Linked DNA regions of Homo sapiens: regions 1, 3, 4, 5, 6 and 7 are each linked to region 2. Evidence: promoter capture Hi-C in 16 types of primary human blood cells and fetal thymus (Javierre and others, 2016). All regions are on one chromosome and are shown on one strand. The core of a region is centred on a gene start or on the middle of the fragment in contact, and the rest is flanking DNA. Distances in the headings are between cores, read along the strand shown. Region 1 overlaps CCNT2-AS1 (CCNT2 antisense RNA 1). Region 2 holds the start of FAM168B (family with sequence similarity 168 member B). Region 3 overlaps WDR33 (WD repeat domain 33). Region 4 holds the start of MAP3K2 (mitogen-activated protein kinase kinase kinase 2). Region 5 has its middle 4.8 kb from the start of SFT2D3. Region 6 overlaps CCNT2 (cyclin T2). Region 7 overlaps RAB3GAP1 (RAB3 GTPase activating protein catalytic subunit 1).

Region 1 (2,754 bases), core at 32-2,531, 3.8 Mb before region 2:
AAAGACCATATGAAGACACAGGGAGAAGACACCCATCTATTAGCCAAGGAGAAGGGCTTACTAGGCGGGTGAGCCAAGAAGAAAGGCTCACGAGGATAGTGAAGACTCAAGTCATTGTAGATAGTCACAAATTTGTGAGGCCTTGCCATTTGGATTACACTCAGAACTGCATGAATTCCTAACATACTCGGTGAAGATTGATTTCCGGTTCCTTTCTTTGCTCATTTTAGGAGGAAGACCTGTTTACTTATTTTTATTTTACTATTTATTTATCCAGTGAATGCTAGTAGAGATGTTACTGTGTGCTAGGAAATTCAAACTGCATAAGTCTGCACACTCGACTTTCCCTTTTGTGTGTCTCAAAGGCATTAATAATCAATATTTCCCCAAACTAAACTCATAATCCTGTCTTTCCAACCTGGTCTTCTCTCTGTGCCTCTTGTAGTAAAATGGCACTACTTCCAGTTATGCAAGTCCGAAACTTAGGGGTCATCTTTGGTATCTGTAATCCTTATCTCCCGTATCTAACCCATCACCAAAGCCTTTCTGTTGACCCTTATTATCTCTGGAGTCTATTACGTATGTTTCTCCACCAGCAACACTACCACCATCTTGGCCCAAGCTATTTCACTTAAGCTCCCCTGCAAGCTGTTGTCATCCTGCAGCCTGCCAGAGGAATCTTTTCAAAATTGAATTCTATCCCACAGGAGCAGGATTAAAAAAAATCAGCTCTAATTAATGCCATCCCCTACTTAAAAACCTTCTCATTGCTTTTCTTTGTTGTTGTTGTTATTATTTGTTTGTTTTCTTTTGGTATTGTTTTTTGACTTAAAACAAGAGAAATTTATTATCTCTCAATTCTAAAGGCCAGAAGTCTAAAATCAATGTGTTGGCAGGGACTATGGTTTGAATGATTGTCCTCTCCCAAACTCATGTTGAAATTTAATCCCCAATGTGGCAGTATTGAGAGGTGATTGGGTCATGAGGGCAGAGCCCTCATGAATGGATTAATAGGTTAATGGATTAATGGGTTATCATGGTAATGGAACTGGTCGGCTTTATAAGAAGAGGAAGAGACTGGAGCTAGCACGTTCAGCTCCCTTGCCATATGATGCCCTGTACTATCTTGGGATTCTGCAGAGTCCCCACCAGTAAGAAGGCCCTCACCAGATGTGGCCCCTCAACCTGGGACTTCTCAGCCTCTGTAACTCTAAGAAGTAATTACTGTTTCAGGTATCCTGCTATGAGCAATGAAAACTGGACTAAAACAGCAGGGCTGTGCTCCCTCTGAAGACTATTGGGGAGAATCTGTTTCTAGGCTCTTCAGCTTTTGGTGACTCTAGGCCTTTCTTGGCTTGTGACCGTAAGACTCCAATCCATGCTTCTTTGCTTCCAACTCTTGTTGTTTTTTTTTTAATTTTTAATTTTTGTGGGTGCATAGTAGTGTGGGGTACATGAGATATTTTGATACAGGTATGCAATGCTTATTAATCACATCTTGGTAAATTGGGTATCCATCCCCCTCATGCGTTTATCCTTTGTGTCACAGACAACTCAATTATATACTTTTAGTTATTTTTAAATGTATAATTAAATTATTATTGACTATAATAGTCACCTATTGTGCTATCACATATGAGGTCTTATTCATTTTTTCTAACTACTTTTGGTACCCATGAGCCATCCCCATTCCCCAATTATCCACTCCAGTCTCTAGTAATCATCCTTTTACTCTTTATGTCTGTAAATTCAATTATTTTAATTTTTGCTCCCACAAATAAGTGAGAACATGCAAAGTTTGTCTTTCTGTGCCTGGCTTATTTCACTTAACATAATGACCTCCAGTTCCATCGTTGTTGCAAATGACAGGATCTCATCCTTTTTTATGGCTGAATAGTACTCCATTGTATATATGTACCACAGTTTGTTTAATCATTCATCTGTTGGTGAATACTTAGGTTGCTTCCAAACCTTGGCTATTGTGAACACAGCTGCAACAAATATGAGAGTGCAGATATCCTTTTGATATACTGTCTTCCTTTCTTTTGGGTATGTACCCAGCAGTGGGATTACTAGATCACATGGTAGCTCTATTTTTAGTTTTTTGAGGAACCTCCAAACTGTTGTCCATAGTGGTTGTACTAATTTACATTCCCACCAACAATGGACAAGAGTTCCCTTTTCTCCACATCCTTGCCAGCATTTGTTATTGGTTGTCTTTTGGAAAAATGCCATTTTTACTGGGGTGAGATGATATCTGACTATAGTTTTGATTTGCATTTCTCTGATGAGCCATGATACTGAGGACATTTTCATATGCCTGTCTACCATTTGTATGTCTTCTTTTGAGAAATGTCTATTCAAATCTTTTGCCCATTTCAAAATCAGATTATTAAATTTTTTTCTTGTAGAGTTGTTTGAGCACGTTATAGATTCTGGTTCTTAATCCCTTGTCAGATGGGTAGTTTGCAAATGTTTTCTCCCATTTGTGAGTTCTCACAGCTTTTCAACATATAAAATTCCTCAACTGACTTATGGCCTCACATGAGCTTGTCACTTTTTACCAAGAATGTCTTCCTTTGTCATCTTCAGCCACAGTGGTTTTCTTTCTTGCTGTGTTCTCTCCTGCCTGTTCCGTGGTGAGCAGGTCTGTGCAAACCCACCCCCAAGGTGAGAGGCTGAAGAAAGAGGCTGACAAATTCAGTTTCTCAGAAAGAAATATTTAATAGGCTCTTACAAACAGAAGTGATATCT
Region 2 (2,700 bases), core at 162-2,661:
AAAAGCCTTCTTTACTCCAATACTAAAAAGGAATTTCCCCATGTTTTCTTCTTGTCCTTTTATCACATTTATATTTTATTTTTATTTTTTTTTTTGAGACGGAGTCTTCCTCTGTCGCCCAGGCTGGAGTGCAGTGGCCCGATCTCGGCTCACTGCAACCTCCGCCTCCCGGGTTCAAGAGATTCTCCTGCCTCAGCCTCCAGAGCAGCTAAGGTTACAGATGTGCGCCACCACGCGCAGCTAATTTTTGTATTTTTAGTAGAGACGCGGTTTCACTATGTTGGCCAGGCTGGTCTTGAACTCCTGACCTCGTGATCTGCCCGCCTCGGCCTCCTATAAGTGCCGGGATTAAAGGCGTGAGACACCGCGCCCATCTGTTTTTATTTCATAAACGACTGAAAAAAGACCAGAGCCAGGCCTCCTCCCTTCCATCACTAATCTTTATTGCAATAACTCCCTCCTTTGTCGTCCTGTACCTAGCTCAGACCAGACGACACCCCAAACACAAACACCAAGACACGCACCTCTTTAATACGAAATAATAAACATACCTCCCCCAGAGAGACACCCTGAACTAACCAAATCATTGTAACTATACACTAAGCCTTACATAAAAATACTAACATTTGGCCGGGTGCGGTGGCTCACACTTGTAATCCCAGCACTTTGGGAGGCCAACGTGGGTGGATCACCTGAGGTCACGGGTTCGAGACTAGCCTGACCAACATGGTGAAACCCCCGTCTCTACTAACACAAAAATTAGCCAGGTGTGGTGGCGGGCGCCTGGAATCTCAATTACTCAGGAGGCTGAGGCAGGAGAATCGCTTGAACCCGGGAAGCGGAGGTTGCAGTGAGCCAAGATCGCGCCATTGTACTCCAGCCTGGGTGACAAGAGCGAAACTCCGTCTCAAAAAAAAACCAAAAAACCCCCTAACATTCTAGTACACTTCCCTGAACTCTTGTCTATAGAAATGATCCCGCACTTCTACACTTGAAACGCTGACTTGCATTCTCTAAAATCTGCACTCCTGAGCGGGCGCCCGCAGCCTCCGCACTGGCAAAGAATCTGTGAGCTGAGCTCCGCCCCGCTCCGACCCCGTAGTGGCGGTCACCCGGGGTGTGCTCGACTCCCGGGTGCGGCCTGAGGATCCGCGCCCTGGCGTCTGGGCACACACAAAGGTTTCTGCGGCGCGGGACTATCTCAAAATATAAATTAAATACTTTTTTCACAGACAGTTAATAAAAAAACTACAGCTACACCCGGCCCTTTCGCCAACTGGGACCGGCCCACTCCGCGCTCGCGCTCGCGCTCGTCCATCCGGGCGTCTCGAGGGCGCCGGCGGGAGCGAGCACGCTGCGCAGTCACGTGCCCGGCGCGCCCCCGTCGCGGCGCGCTCAGGCGGAAGTGAGGTCGGCGGCTCCGGTGGCTGCGCAGCGTCGGCGGGGAGCGCGGGCTGCGGAGAGGCGGGCCGGGCCAAGCGGAGCCGAGCGAGCGGGAGCGCGGCGTCCGGGAGGCGGCGGAGACGCGGGGCTCGGAGGGTCAGCCTCTTATCGTAGCAGGTCTCCTCGGCACGCCCCCCTTGTTTCGCCCCACGGCCAAGCCCGCCGCGGGCCGGCGTGCGCTGGTCACTGAGGCCCAGGTCGCCGCCGCGGCGCGGTGAGTGGGGGCGGGCAGCGGGCGACTGCGCGTCCAGGCCGGAAGTGCGGCGCTTTGTGCGGCCGGCTCGGGGCGGCGCCAAGGTCGGCCCGCGGCTCGGGGTCGCTGGGCGTCTGGACCGGCCTGGGCTGCGCTTTGTGCCGCGGGCAAGGCCGGGCGGGGGCCGGGGGCGGAGCTCGGCCGGACACGTACGCGTGCAGGTGCGGTCCGGGCGGCGCGGGCCTGCCGCCTAGGTGGCCGAGGTGGCTTCGCGGCGCGGGGCGTTCTCCTAAAGGTCGGGGTCACAGCCGTCAGGAATGCGAGCGTGAAACCCGGGGGCAGAGCTTTGTGACAATAGTCATTTCCAATGTGTAACTGCTCACTTTGTCTACCCACGAAGTAAAGATAATTTTTATTTTTATTTTTTTGCTTGGCGGAATCTGAGCGTTCTCCTTCCAGCTTGAAAAGGCACGATTTAAATTACAGATTTTTAAGATTTCCTTCAGAAAGGACGTTTCGTGGCCTAGCCTGGGTTAACTTTGAAAAAAGAGTGCAGTGCGCCTTTACGACGTCCACAAATAAGGGTATTTCTGTTTTATAGTGTATGTGAACATGAAGTGTGCATCTCATGGGCTGTTTGAGTTAATGTTTAATCATTAAAGTCAAACAAGAATATTTTGCAGTGTTTTCGCATGCAAGGAAGCTTTATAAATAAAAAGGTTTATATAGTTTCCACTCCTTAAACTTTCAGGTCATCCTTGTGTAATTTGAGATCACTTTTCTCAAATACTATGGATGAAAGATTCTAGATTAAATAAAACTTTTTGGTTTTGGCAAAAACAGGACACATTTTTAAGCTCTTGTAGATGAAGGAGTGGGTTATTTTTGCTTTGACAGCCAAGATTTGAGCAGTGTAAGGCTATTCTAATTTTGAAGCTAGTGTTGCAGAAATTGTGAAGATCTTGCTTCTCTTTGTCTTTACAAAGCAGGCTTACTTTGGTGGAGTTCCGTAGTTTAAAGGGAAATTATACCCAAGTTGTCTTAGACAGTTTCTTTTCCTGGAT
Region 3 (2,700 bases), core at 45-2,544, 3.4 Mb after region 2:
CAAGTCCAGGCTTTGGTAGCTTCATTTTAAGAGTAACAGAAAATGTCTTTTTTGAGGGGGAGGGAGAAGCTGGGTAACTTTTGTGAACAAATCTTCTCTCTTTGGTGCTGTTGCAGGGTAGAGAAGGAAGTGGGTGGGATGGAGATGGCTCACGAAGGGATGATCTGGAGTCTGGCTTGGCATCCTCTTGGGCATATTCTCTGCTCAGGCTCAAATGACCATACTAGGTAAGCTTTATATTGAAATAGCAAAGCTTTATATGGAGCAACAGGAAATAAATACTGTATGTGTTTATTTTTATTGGTTGATTGATATAGTAATTTATATTCCAACTTATTCTTGGGAATATTTTTGTAGTGGTTTACAAATACTTATATTGCAATAAAGAGATTGGGTATTGAATATGGTTTTGGCTATTCAAATTTTGTTTTGCCTTCTGACTTAAAACAGAAGTTTTCCACTTTTATTTATTTATTTATTTATTTATTTGAGACAGGGTCTCTGTCCAGGCTGGCGTGCAATGGTGCGGTCTCAGCTCACTATAGCCTCAACCTTCCTGGGCTCAGGTGATCCTCCTACCTCAGCCTCCTGAGTAGCTGAGACTATAGGAGCACACCACCACACCTGGCTAATTTTTGCATTTTTTGTAGAGATGGGGTTTCACCATGTTGCCCAGGCTGATGTCAAACTCCTGGGCTTAGGCAATCCTCCTGCCTCAGCCTCCCAAGGTGCTGGGATTACAGGCATGAGCCACCTTGCCCGGCCCCACATTTTATTTTTATTTTTATTATTATTTTAAGAGACAGAGTCTCACTCTGTCACCGAGACTAGAGTTCTGTGGTGAGATCACAGCTCACTGTAGCCTCAAACTCCTGGGCTCAAGCCATCTTCCCGCCTTATCCTCGTGAGTAGCTGAGACTACAGGTGTGTGCCACCACACCCAGCTAACTTTTTAATTTTTATTTTGTAGAGACAGGGTTTCGCTATGTTGCCCAGGCTGGTCTTGGACTCCTGGACTTAATCCTCCTGCCACAGCCTCCCAAAGTGCTGGGATTACAGATGTGAGCCAAAGTGTATGACCTCACATTTTAAATTTGTAGAAGAAACAAATTGTAAAAATGTGTTGTGTTTACCAAGGGTCTGCCTAGTACTGTTTAGTGCCCAAAAAAATAGTGAAGCCATGCTTCTTTTCTCCTTTAATTATTTTTACAGCAAATTCTGGACTCGAAACCGACCAGGTGATAAAATGCGAGATCGATATAATCTAAACCTTTTACCTGGAATGTCTGAAGATGGAGTAGAATATGGTGAGACTCTTGCACATCTGTCCTTCTTTGAAATCTGGTATTCTATTACAGAAGTGTTAGATGTTGGGAAGATTATACAAAATGAATTTTAATTTTATAGTAGATTTATTTATAAATCATCAGTGACATTCATTTTTATAAAGCATTAATTTTATCAGTCGCTACTTTTGTAAATTCTCTATTGACAATGGTGTATTACTATTTATAGATGACCTCGAACCTAATAGCCTGGCAGTAATTCCAGGAATGGGAATACCAGAACAACTAAAATTAGCTATGGAACAAGAACAGATGGGTAAGAGAAGTTACACAGACACATTTAATTTTTACAAATTTTTTCTTGACCCGTTTATGTTCCTGATAAATATATTGAAATACCAAAATGATTTATGTTGAGAAATGTTGATAAAAATTATATAAATGACATAATACTTAAAATCTATTCTTCCAATAATGTGTTCATTGATCAAGTGGCCAATTTCTTTTATTTAAGAGGCAAACCACTTTTCTTTACGGTTACAGGGAAAGATGAATCAAATGAAATTGAAATGACAATTCCAGGTTTAGATTGGGGAATGGAGGAAGTGATGCAAAAGGATCAGAAAAAAGTACCTCAGAAGAAAGTTCCTTATGCAAAACCCATTCCTGCTCAGTTCCAGCAGGTAAGTAAAAGTGACTCCACCTCATCCACGCAGAGAGGTTTTGGTTGGTTAGTTTGAGGTTTCTCTTGGATTATCTCACTGTTGAAGGTGTTTCTGTACTGGAGCATTTTTCCCATGTTCACGTACTCTTAGACATGGTTCTCATCTACTGCTTTGCAGTTGTATTGAGTTTGTTATCAGTCTTCTCTGTTCTGTCCTCACCTGCTTATTATCATCCATGCTATGAGAGGAAATAGAAGAAAGAGGCATGGAGCAGAGGGAGTATGGGAGTATGTTGCTTCTCTTCTCCATTGTTTATCTATCTTGTGCTTTAATTGTCCCCTCAACACAAAGTGCATGTACCCTGTGAAGAGGCTGGCAAGCTTTGCATTCTTAATAACATGCAGTGTCTTGCAGCTTTTATCACCATAGTAATTTCTACCTAGTAATATGTCAGTAAGAATTAGCATGAGTCATGTACTTGAGTCATGGAGAAAAGGTAAAAAGAAATAAAATCGGTTCAGAGGTTAGATTGAGCAGATGACATTGTAGAGTGGTTTTCTCATTCTATCATTGTAATTTTCATACTTAGCGTACATTTTAATATTCTCTTCTTTCCCAAGGCTTGGATGCAAAATAAAGTTCCAATTCCTGCTCCAAATGAGGTGCTGAATGACAGAAAAGAAGACATTAAATTGGAAGAGAAGAAAAAAACACAAGCAGAAATTGAGCAAGAAATGGCTACATTACAA
Region 4 (2,700 bases), core at 201-2,700, 3.7 Mb after region 2:
ATTTATCTCTAGATTACTTAGTAAACAAACACGTTTTTATTGAATGCCTGCTATGTGGTGACCCAGTAACTGTGGAGAACAATATAGATATTTAAGATTTAAATACTATCCTCCGGCGTTCTGAGACCCTCCTTTCTGTGGCATACAGGTCTTAGAATGTTAGATTCAAGAAGGTCTTAGATTTATGCATAAGTCCCCCATTTTTTAAACAAATAGAAGCAAACTGATTTTCCACTGACCTCTGTGTTTCTGAGGTGCACATCCTTGTTCCTGTGACTTTGACACCTCTGTTAATGGGTCTGTAATAAAAATTCCTGGAAGAAACCCAGAGATATTTTGACATTACACAACAGTTTCTCCCTCAGTCTCTGCCCCACAAGTGCCAGCTCCCTTGACCCTCAGAGCCCAAGTTGGGTAGCTCCTTACCTCTGGTTCGGGTGAGTCCCATTCCCATCTCTCTCATTTCAACTGCTCCAGTGGAAATGTGGTCTGGAATATGCATGAAAGGGGTGGATCCAGAATGTACGAAGAAACCAAGAAGAAGCTGAACAGGGAAGAATGGTACAGGAAGTTGTAAGGGGTATTTAAGGAAAGGAGAAGAGATGGGGCGGAAAGGTGCTTTCTGGATCAAAGTAGGGTGAAAACGTCGGGATGCAGGTTAGTCACACCACGGAGGGCCTCACCACTAGTCTGATTAATTTGCATTTTATCCTGTGGGAGATGAGGAGCGAAAGAAAGGGTTTTAGACTCTAGCTTTGGGGGTGGGGTGTCAACTCATGTCTCTGGGCTTAAGTTTCCACATCTGTTAAGCTGGAGAAGTAATACTTGCTGGGCTAACCAATGTACACAACCAGTCATAACCAAGTATCGATGGTGATAAGAACTAAACAGAAAACACAAATAACACTTAGCCAGTCTCCAAGGGGGTGGTTTAAGGTTAGGTGGCAAGCCTGAAGTAATTTCTAAAGTCCCTCAGGAAAAAAATTCTGAAACTTGAGCCACAAATTAAGAGGCAGACGGCTTTTCTCCTTGCAAATGACCTGCCACACAGTCCGTCACTGCCTCTGCTAGCTCTGCTACCCTTGGGCCCTGTCCACAGCCCACGTGGGAGACCTTTTCACGGGATCTACTCGGATGTCTGGGATCTGGCCACTACCGCAGGCTCGAGACAACCCAGGTGCGTATGCGCCGCGCACACGGAACAGCACAGGCTGCCCCGGGGCAGGGGCGGGGGCGGGGCCGAGGCCGGGGCGGAGCCAGGACTGGGAATCCCCGCGCCGTCCGGCCGGTGGGGGCGGTGGCCTGTGTGTGGGCGTGGCGGGCCTCTGCGCAGGCGCCGACCCACTCCCCTGGGCCGGGCGCGCGCCCGCGGCGGGTTCCGCTACCGCCGGGCGGAGGGGTGCGCGCGCACGAGCGAGCGGCCGTGACGTGCGCCGCGCTACGCCCGACGTCACGGGTCCGTGTGTAGTGGCTGCCGGGCTGCCTGCCCTCAGCGGCGGCGCCTGACGAGGGTGCCGCGGCCGCTGGGCGCAGCGTTCGGGGGTTGCACGGCCCGCGGCGGCGACGAAAACAACGACCAGGACGCTCGGCGCCCCTGTCCGCAGAGTCGCCACTCCCGCCTCTTCTCCGGTCTCTAGCGACGCGGGCCCGCGGCTTCCTCCTTTCCTGCCCAGTTCCCGCGGGCCTCGGGGTTGCAGCGGCTAGAAGTGCCGAGGAGCGCCAGGAGGACCCGGCCGGCTGCGAGGATTCACGCGCCCGCCACCCCGCCCGGCCCGGGCTTCATGTGAAAGAGGGACGGGCCTGGCCCCAAGGCCCGCGCCCGACTCCTCGCGCGCCCCTCCGGTCCCCGGGGGCCCTGCGGCAGCCCCCGACCTGGGGCCGCGGTGACAGGCCGCGCTGGGGCGGAGGGGCGGGCTCGGCGGGGGCGGCCCCTCCTTGGGCCTGCGGCTCTCTACGTCCCTGCGGAGCAGCCGGTACGTGCGTGTGTGCGTGCGCGCGCGCTTGTGTGTGTGTGTGTGTGTGTGTGCGCGCGTGTGTGTCGGGGGCCGCGGGCTGGGCGCCGGGAGGGGGGCTGGCGGCGGCCTAAGCGCCGCTCCAGGGGCGGAGATTTCGCTGGGTGATTGCCTAGCTGCGGGAGGGCGGACCTTGGGCCCCCTGCATCCAGTCCTAAAGCCCAGGTCAGCGCGAAGTAGGCTGCTGGGCTGTGTTAGCTGTCAGACACGTACCCTGCAGAGATTTTAGAAGAAAGGTTGCATCTGGTCTTGGGATGAAGCAGAAATGGTACATGCAGTAAGCGAAAAAGTGCTTGTCTTTGCACTGTCACAGTGTGGTAATCTTTTGATGTAAGGTTGTTTCCCCCTTTTCTCTTTACGGAATATTTAGGTAGCACTTAGGGTGCTCTTAGTCTGCGCCCGGCAGTTGTCATGCATTATCTCTCTTCATCTTCCCAGCTCAATGAGGTGGGTAAATTGCCCCATTTTGCAGGTGAAAACTTGAGGCTCAGAGAGATTAAGGCATTTGTCCAAGGTCATGAAGGTAGTAATCCAGGAAGGCTTGGTTCGAATATGCAGATGTCTTTTTGTAAGACTGTATTTCTCGTCTTGCAAAAAATAAATACGTTTAGAAAATGAGACTAACTGGGCAGTTTCTTTAATGGGATAAATTCTAAACACATAGACAGATACAGTTTAGTTTTCCCTA
Region 5 (2,700 bases), core at 41-2,540, 3.4 Mb after region 2:
ACATCCTGGGCAGGGGCTCTTCAGATGCCCGCGTCCTCCCTTCCAGTATTGTTGGACTTTAGCATAAGGTCAGGCAGGTCCCAGCTCCCACCTCCCCAAGGGGAAGGGGCCACAGCCAGCCTTTTCTTCTGCCGAGGTCTTTCACCTTGACCTGAGGAAGCAGCACCCTTCGCACCAAATCCTCTCCCACTTGCAGGAAATTATATTTTCTCCCAGAGCCCAGCAAGTGTTATCCACGCTTCTTTTGAGGGCTTTCCAGAGTGGCGTCTGCCTCCCTTCCCTGTCTGTCATGGCCCTCTCTGTTCAGCTGGGTTTACTTGTCCCCTGCCGGGCCGCAACCTGAACTACATTCTCCCTTCCTTCAGTGTGGCGGGTCAGCTAGCGCCAACCACCCCCTCATTTTTGAGACAGGATCTTGCTCTGCTGCCCAGGCTGGAATGCAATGGTGCGATCTTGGCTCACTGCAAACTCCGCCTCCCGGGTTCAAGCGATTCTCCCACCTCAGCCTCTGGAGTAGCTGAGATTACAGGCGCCTGCCTGTAGACGGGGTTTCCACAGATGGTGCAGGTGGTCTCCAACTTCAGAGCTCAAGTGATCCGCCCACCTCAGCCTCCCAAAGTGCTGGGATTACAGGCATGAGCTACCGCACCAGGCCCACCAGTGCCCCCTTTCAAAACTGAAATCTAGTAATGTCCTCTTTATCTACTATTCTTCAGTGGCTCCTTATTTCCTACAGATTAAATTCTAATTCCCTGCCTGCCACCCAGCCTTCTAGGCCCTGCCTTACGCCCCTGTGGCTCTCCCCGATGCTCTGTGGGGTCCCTCTGGACCTAGCAGTTTGGAGACTCCCTTCTTCTGTGGCTTTGCTGAGCCTGGGCTCTCTGCTGGGTGGACCTCTGTCTACTGCTCCTTCCCCTCCCTCTCCCAAGCATCCCCTTCCTCCAGGTCAGTCCTCAGGGCCCACACAGCCCTGTCACTGACTGGTGACATTGCCAATGCCTTGAGGAGTTTTGTTATCAAACAAATGGGCTCACTGCTCAAGGCACAGCGAAACCAGTAACACTGGCAGCAGCTTTTGAGAAAAGAAAGGTTTCATTGCAAAACTGACAAGCAAGGAGGCAGGAGTGGGGCTCAAATCTGTCTCCCCAGTTTGAGGTCTGGGGTAAGCTTTAAGGGATCAGAGGGCAAGGGAAGTGATTGAGCAGTGTTGGCTTGGCAGGGTCTGATTGGCGGGCTTCAAATTTAACGATTTATGGAAAGGTTTGTCAAGGTAGATTTGGGCCCCAGTCTCCCAGGCTGACGCATCCCTGCTTCTGAAAGATTTCCATGTTCAGGTTCCAGTCCTGTCCTGGTCTTCTTTGTTCCGAGGGGAGGAGTCATTGGTTCTGGGTATTGTTAGAGGTCAAAGCTTGTTCCATTGTGCATGCCTGGGCAACATGGCTTGCAGTTTTGGCTCTGTTGTACCTACAAAGCAATGCGACATTCTGTCATCAACAAGGTAGGCCCAGTATGCGCTGGTCTCGCAGTTATAGTTTCTTCTTTTATTTACTAATTTTTAAAAGAATACCTAACTGCTTGCGTGGTGATGGTCTTCTCAAGTCTCATTTCTTTGAGTCCTGCTTCCCAGCCCCTGTCACTGTCTTCATTGCCTTGGCTTTTCCGGGTGACCTCAAGTTGGGTGGCTCAGGCTTTGTGGCAAATGTTGGCTCACCAGGCTGATTCATCATGGCTCAGTCACTGTCTGGGTTGGTCGCCTGGCCCTGGTGATCTTCCTCAGGCACAGTGCCAAAGCACTTGCCACAAAATGATGTCTCCTGTCCCCCCGACCTTGGGGCAGCAGAGCCTCTCCGTGGCCACTGGCTCATAGAGCTTCTGCACTGAGGGAGGTGCTCCGGCCAAGGCAGTGACCAGCAGCCACATGTAGCCTCTGCACCTGCGGGGCAGCTGAGGAACTGAATTTTAAATTTTAATTAACTTTAGTTAATTCATTATTTATATTGAATTATATTTAAAACATCATAATGTACCCACATTATTATATGTAACATACATAATATACTATTAATATATATTTATCATAGCCACATGTAGCTACTGTATTCCCACTGCCCCTCTGGAGCCTGTCAGAGATAGGGGGCGCAGTTGGCATTGTCACCACGCTGCCTGCACTTGAGTGCGAGCGGGTGCCCAGGGAGCGCTGGCGGCGCTCGCGTGCTGCTGGGGATGGGCAGACTCCTCGAGGGGCGCGGGCGAACGGTCGGGCTCTTGGACGTGGGGGGGCAGCGGCGTGCGGGGCCCTCCCCCGGTTTTCTCCTTACGCGTCCTGGGGAAACTGAGGACGCAGACGCCCTCCCACAGGAGCGTCTGAGCCAGGGCGCCTCCCAGGATGCCTCGCTGTCCCTCAGGCCTTCGTAGCGTCGGCTTGTCCAGTTGGCACCGCCCGTCCCGCTCTCTGGGGGCCCTGGCACCTCGGCCCCGCGCGGGCCTGTCCCGGGACCCCGCCGGCCGCGGGCCGCTCTCACGTGCTTTTGGCTGCAGCCCTACCCCGCTAGATTAGATTTAAAATCGCTAAAGGGGCCCTGTTCTGATAGCCTTAGAGATAAATAAGCACCTTATATAAATGGAATAGTCCCGAATTTTTCAGAAGTTGGGGAAATGTAACTTCTAATATGTTAATGGTCAAAAAGGAAAATTATTTTC
Region 6 (2,700 bases), core at 21-2,520, 3.8 Mb before region 2:
AGGCTAAGGTGGGGGAATCACTTGAACCCAGGAGGTTGATGCTGCAGTGAGCCATGATTGTGCCACTGCACTCCAGCCCGGGTGTCAGAGGGAGACCTAGTCTCAAAAAAAAAAAAAAAAAAAAAAAAGGCAGCTATCCAAGTTTCCAATATTATTGGAATCTAGAGTTACCATATGATCCAGCAATTCTACTCCTGGGTATAAGCCCAAGAGAAACCAAAAACACAAGTCTACACAAAAACTTGTACACAAATGTTCTTAAGAGCACTATTCATATTAGCCAAAAAGTGGCTAACAATCCAAATGCCCACCAACTGATGAACATATATATATAATGTGGTCTAGCCATACAGTGGAATAATGGGTAGTACAGCAAGAAAAGTAAACAACCTACTGAATAAATACAACAACATAGATGAGCCTTGAAAACACGGTAAGTGAAAGAAGTCAGTCACAAAGGACAACATACTGTAGGATTCCATTAATGAAATGTCTATTAATAGGCTGGGGGAAAAATAGGGAGAAATGACTGCGGGGTTGGGGGTTTCTTTTTGGTGTAGTGAAGACTTCTAAAAATTGATGCACACCTCTGTGAATATTCTTAAAAAAACCCACAAACCCCACGGAATCATACTTTCAATGGGTGAAATGTACAATATGTGAATTATATCACAAAAAGGGCAAAAATCCAGTAATTATCCTATATGATACGTGCCACTGGGTGTCCATATGAGATGAATCAAGAATTCCAATACAAAAATACCAATTTGTAAGAAAGAAATGACAGAATTAGAGTATCACCAATGAATGAAAGGACCCAGGCATTGAATATCAGCAGCCACTAACACTACAAAGAGAGACAACCAGACTTTAGACCTTCTGACCAAAGAACATTAACACCATCTATAGCCTTGCCTAAGGGATCTAACAGGAGTCTGATTAAGTTTCTGGATCTAATCATCAATTTTTCCAGGAATGCAAGAAAAAAGGAACACAGTAAACTGCACCATGAGTATACAATCAGCAAAATTCAGACAGTTGGAAACTCTACAGGTCACACACTCTAGGGTCCTTCAACAGCTACAACTTAGTTGACATAAAAAGATGGAGGGGAAACATGCATACTGAGAGACTTCAAAGACTTACCAAATTTTTAATAATGAGCAAGGTCTATGGTATTTGGGAATGCAGAGTTGGGTGCTAAAACTATAAAGAAAGTGATTAGAGTAAGAATACTGGGGCCGGGCGAGGTGGCTAACGCCTGTAATCCCAGCACTTTGGGAGGTCGAGGTGGGGGGAATCACGAGGTCAGGAGTTTGAGACCAGCCAGACCAACATGGTGAAAACCCGTCTCTACTAAAAATACAAAAATTAGCTGGGCATGGTGGTGCATGCCTGTAATCCCAGCTACCCAGGAGGCTAAGGCAGGAGATTCACTTGAACTCAGGAGGCGGAGGTTGCAGCGAGCCGAGATTGCACCACTGCACTCCAGCCTGGGCGACAAGACCAGACTCCTATCTCAAAAAAATAAAAAAGAATACTGGTTACTTTTGGAGGGAGGGGATCGACACTGAGTTGAGCACGTGGAGACATTCCGGGGTAGTTGGCAAAGTTCTATTTCTTGACTTGGTTGGTGATTACAAGGTTGTTTTATAATAATCCACTATACATTTGTTTGGTGGTTTTATATATTTTACAATTAAAAAGAAAACACTCATCTCATATATGTACAGTTACACTACAGCACTATAAACTCCCAAATAGATGGAATACAACTGGATGTGAATAAGATTCAAAGGTAAGATCAGAGAGATAAATTCACAAATGGAAAAGAGAGTTATCTGGGGAATGCTTTATGAAAGAGTAGCAACTTCAGCTGAGTCTTAAAACCTGACAGAGCACAGTCACATGAAAGCAAAGAGAAAGCACCCTAAGGAAAAACAGTGATACACAATGCATAAATGCTAACACTGATGTATAGTTGAAAAAGAGGAATTTGGGACTTATAAAGAGGACCTCATTGGATTTAGTGCAATGAGGCGGGCAAATAAAAATCTGAGGTTTTTTCATTGTTTACTTTATAAATCTTACAAATCACTGGCATAAATTGCTACTGTGCTCTACTTCTGAAATATACTAGAACAGGAAAAAGTGAGAACTACAGTTTGGGATTAAGCAAAGGACTTGGGTTCAAATCCCAGCCACGTAATAGTTTTAATTTCGGACAAGTCACTTGGTAACTGCGTCTGCTTCCTTAGGAGAATACTTTACCTGAGAAAACAAGACAAATATAAAGTGCCTGGCATAGTGAGATCTTAATAAAATTTCAACCAGGTAATTTATAGTTTAAAAGGAATTTAAAAATCATCTAGGCTAATCGTCTCAAATTTACAGGTTAGTACCTACTACATTGAAGAGCACAGATACACAAAACTTGCGCTATGCAGAAAGTTCTACTGGACAGCACTGCAGTATTTCCAAGTAATGCTAATGGATCTTGGGCATAAGATTATTGTTGGATTAATTATTGCTTTATTAAACTAAAAGGCAGAAAGAGAAGTAAGCTATAAACACCTGCTTAGACTTCACAATGAAACATATGCTGATTTGACTTCTGTAAAACATGACCAGAGTATAACAATGAATTGAAATGAACAGGAGAAAAAGCAAAATTTATTTATTTTTATTATTATTATTATT
Region 7 (2,700 bases), core at 75-2,574, 4.0 Mb before region 2:
AATATTTAAGGGTTCCCAAGTACCCTGATTTGATTATATGCATGTATCAAATTATCACATGTACCCCAAAATATGTACATCTATCATATATCAATTTAAAAAATAATAATAAAATAAAATTTTAATGTTTCTTTACTGATCACCCTCACTAGAATTTATGTTCAATGGCAACACTGATCTTATCTTGTTCACAATTTCTTCACATCAGGCACATAGCAGGTACTCAGTAAATACATGTAAATCAAAGAATGAAAGAATATCAGAGCTCATAAGTACCCGGTTTAGCTCTCTTCTTAGTAGTGTAAATCATTTCCTATTCTAGCTATATCCAGCTTATTTTGCCTCTAATCTTATTGGCATCTATATCAATTGTTATGTATTTGTTTCAAGTGGAGTAGAATGACCCGTGTTTGAAAGCGTCACATTTTCTTTATTCACACATGTAGTGTAGTAAATCAATGTATATATTGCCAAGAGTCTTTGAATGATGTATTTTTTATATGTGGTCTTACTTTTTCTGTTCATATTGATACAAATAAGGAGATTTTTTTTCCTTAAGAGACAGGGTCTCACCATGTTGCCTGGCTTCCTAATGCATTTTGACAGTCTCTTTTTTGATAGTATCACCATCACAAAGCTGAAAACCCCTAGCAAATATTGAGAACTCAAAGTTCCTAACACAGGGTAAATTATAATTAAATTACTATTGAATTAATAATTACTGAGTTAATAAGTTATCACTGAGTTAGTAATATTGAGTTGTAATAAAACCAACCATAAATTTTATTTCAAAAGAATTTATCTAACAAACTAAGCATCTACATAAACTTAAAATCAAATTGTTAGATCCCTTCACAGTGAATCCAGGTTTGTTCTCAGAGTACATTCTTCAGTAAACATTTGGGGTGTGGTTTATGAATAAAACTACCAATACTTTAGATTAGAATTTGATTTCTACCTCAATTTCAAAGAGTAATTTTTTCATTCTTAAATAAAATCCTTAAAACATCCATAAGTTAAAAAGCTTAAAAGGGAAGGGGGATGTTATTAGTGATATTATAAAATACAAAAACTGAGTGAAATAGTTGTTAACTACAGTAAGTCAATGGTAAGTACTAGAATTTTCCTCATTAGTAAGCAAAATATGCTACCAAAGAAGATGGTCACTGCAATGTTTCTCTGACCAAATAAAAAACTTTTAAAAACATGTTTTAACATTCCAAGGGAGAAGGCAAAAGAGAAGCAAACTTCACTCACAAAGAATCACTCACAAAGAATGACATTTTATATATATATATATACACACACACATATATATAACTTTATTAAACATTTCACAAATGTCTTACATATATCATTTGCCACAGATTTAAATCCAAATTCTTCCAAATGCTATTTGATGTTTATAGATTATACGTAACTTTAAAAAACATTTAATTCAAATGTGCCAAATGCAGCAAAGGGCTGGAAAATAGAGGTTTCAAAGTAAATAGTCATTTAGAGACACCAGCAAATAGATCTGACCTTTTCGAGTGGCTTTCCCAAAGAGTTTCCAATCAGTTTCCAGTCATTCAAGACTTCTTCAACTTTGGAAATAAACCTAGGAAGTAGGGAGAAAGCTTCTAAATACAACAGCACACCTTTTTTCCTATTATTATGTAATTTCTTTAAAAAGGTATTTTTTATATTTTAACAATTTGACCAGAGAGGACTCAGTACATTTAGTATTGCTAGCTTAATTTATGGATATGGGGTAAGAGAAATAATCTTCTTTCATTCAAGAATTCTTAGGTTTTGATTCATTTATATCTATTGCTTACCCAACAAAAGCATTCTGCCTTCTATAAAATGTAAATTAAGAATTGATGAATCTCTAATAAAACGAATAAAACAAATTTGGGGCACAAATAAAAACTGACAGACTAAAATGATACTATTAAAGATAATTATGGGCTGGGTGCAGTGGCTCATGCCTGTAATTCCAGCCCTTTGAATTCCTAACCCTGAGGTTGGGAGTTCAAGACCAGCCCAGCACAAATACAAAAAAAATTAGCCCGGTGTGGTGGCACACATCTGTAATCCCAGCTACGCAGGAGGCTGAGGCACAAAAATCACATAGAAGCGGACGTTGCAGTGAGCGGACATCGCGCCACTGCACGCCAGCCTGGGCGACAGAGTGAGATTCCATCTCAAAAATAAATAAATAAATAAAATTATGAAACCAATCATCTCTCTCCTACCCACAATAACTGACCTATTTAAATAAACTTTTCCTTTAAATATATTAGGAATTCCGATTTACCCCCCCAGCCCCCAACAAAAAAAGAAAATATTATTTGGTAACTTGGTTCATGAAACTAAAACAAGTTTTAATGGACAGCTGACAAGAAATTGCAAGTAAATATGTCAACTTTAAGTATAAGTGACAGGTCTTAAAACTAGTCACCAATCTTTAAATCCAATGGTCAAGAAGGCCTATTAAAAAGAGAACTGAATTTTGAGTAGCAACATGCTCAACATCAGTAAATGAAAACTGTCAAGTCTCAGTCAAAGACATTTTCAGAAGAATTATTCTTACTCTAAGTTGACTTCTTATATAAGCTAAGTATGATGCAATCTAACAGCAACATTGCTCTCTAAACACCTGGAAGTACTGCTAGAGTACTAGAGTTAATTCTAGTCAAACTGTATGGAAAGGCA

The links. The method cuts DNA at HindIII sites, captures the fragments that hold promoters and counts their contacts. A CHiCAGO score of 5 or more calls a contact.
Region 1: a contact is called between a fragment that was not itself captured here and the fragment with the promoter of FAM168B in region 2, in 1 of 17 cell types (M0 macrophages). The highest score is 8.5, in M0 macrophages.
Region 3: a contact is called between a fragment that was not itself captured here and the fragment with the promoter of FAM168B in region 2, in 1 of 17 cell types (monocytes). The highest score is 7.5, in monocytes.
Region 4: a contact is called between the fragment with the promoter of MAP3K2 here and the fragment with the promoter of FAM168B in region 2, in 6 of 17 cell types (total CD4 T cells, total CD8 T cells, fetal thymus and 3 more). The highest score is 13.3, in total CD4 T cells.
Region 5: a contact is called between a fragment that was not itself captured here and the fragment with the promoter of FAM168B in region 2, in 1 of 17 cell types (monocytes). The highest score is 7.5, in monocytes.
Region 6: a contact is called between a fragment that was not itself captured here and the fragment with the promoter of FAM168B in region 2, in 13 of 17 cell types (fetal thymus, activated CD4 T cells, total B cells and 10 more). The highest score is 20.9, in fetal thymus.
Region 7: a fragment that was not itself captured here is called in contact with the fragment with the promoter of FAM168B in region 2 in 5 of 17 cell types (fetal thymus, total CD4 T cells, non-activated CD4 T cells and 2 more); the score reaches 9.9 in fetal thymus.

The regions. Positions count from the first base shown.
Region 1 is chr2:134,907,084-134,909,837 of GRCh38, reverse strand. All of the region lies in intron 1 of CCNT2-AS1 (CCNT2 antisense RNA 1), which reads left to right. Among named protein-coding and RNA genes, the nearest start is that of CCNT2-AS1, 10 kb to the left of the region's middle. The HindIII fragment of the contact is 3,815 bases long and covers 1-2,754 here.
Region 2 is chr2:131,092,171-131,094,870 of GRCh38, reverse strand. FAM168B (family with sequence similarity 168 member B) reads left to right here and starts at 1,411. Exons shown (of 7, transcript NM_001009993.4): 1 at 1,411-1,657. RefSeq lists a silencer at 1,238-1,957. The HindIII fragment of the contact is 2,381 bases long and covers 1-2,341 here.
Region 3 is chr2:127,721,860-127,724,559 of GRCh38, reverse strand. WDR33 (WD repeat domain 33) reads left to right here. Exons shown (of 22, transcript NM_018383.5): 11 at 117-227; 12 at 1,213-1,307; 13 at 1,516-1,602; 14 at 1,830-1,969; 15 at 2,572-2,700. Among named protein-coding and RNA genes, the nearest start is that of SFT2D3, 22 kb to the right of the region's middle. RefSeq lists an enhancer at 1,998-2,700. The HindIII fragment of the contact is 2,078 bases long and covers 256-2,333 here.
Region 4 is chr2:127,386,725-127,389,424 of GRCh38, reverse strand. It overlaps MAP3K2 (mitogen-activated protein kinase kinase kinase 2), which reads left to right and starts at 1,450. Exons shown (of 17, transcript NM_001371910.2): 1 at 1,450-1,973. It overlaps MAP3K2-DT (MAP3K2 divergent transcript), which reads right to left and starts at 1,987. Exons shown (of 4, transcript NR_187129.1): 1 at 1,873-1,987; 2 at 427-544; 3 at 240-314. RefSeq lists a silencer at 1,161-2,030. The HindIII fragment of the contact is 12,520 bases long and covers 1-2,700 here.
Region 5 is chr2:127,695,349-127,698,048 of GRCh38, reverse strand. No RefSeq gene overlaps it. Among named protein-coding and RNA genes, the nearest start is that of SFT2D3, 4.8 kb to the left of the region's middle. The HindIII fragment of the contact is 241 bases long and covers 1,170-1,410 here.
Region 6 is chr2:134,923,288-134,925,987 of GRCh38, reverse strand. The region is part of intron 2 of CCNT2 (cyclin T2); the gene reads right to left. Among named protein-coding and RNA genes, the nearest start is that of CCNT2, 5.8 kb to the right of the region's middle. The HindIII fragment of the contact is 4,940 bases long and covers 1-2,700 here.
Region 7 is chr2:135,056,911-135,059,610 of GRCh38, reverse strand. It overlaps RAB3GAP1 (RAB3 GTPase activating protein catalytic subunit 1), which reads right to left. Exons shown (of 24, transcript NM_012233.3): 3 at 1,525-1,600. Among named protein-coding and RNA genes, the nearest start is that of RAB3GAP1, 6.0 kb to the right of the region's middle. The HindIII fragment of the contact is 595 bases long and covers 1,027-1,621 here.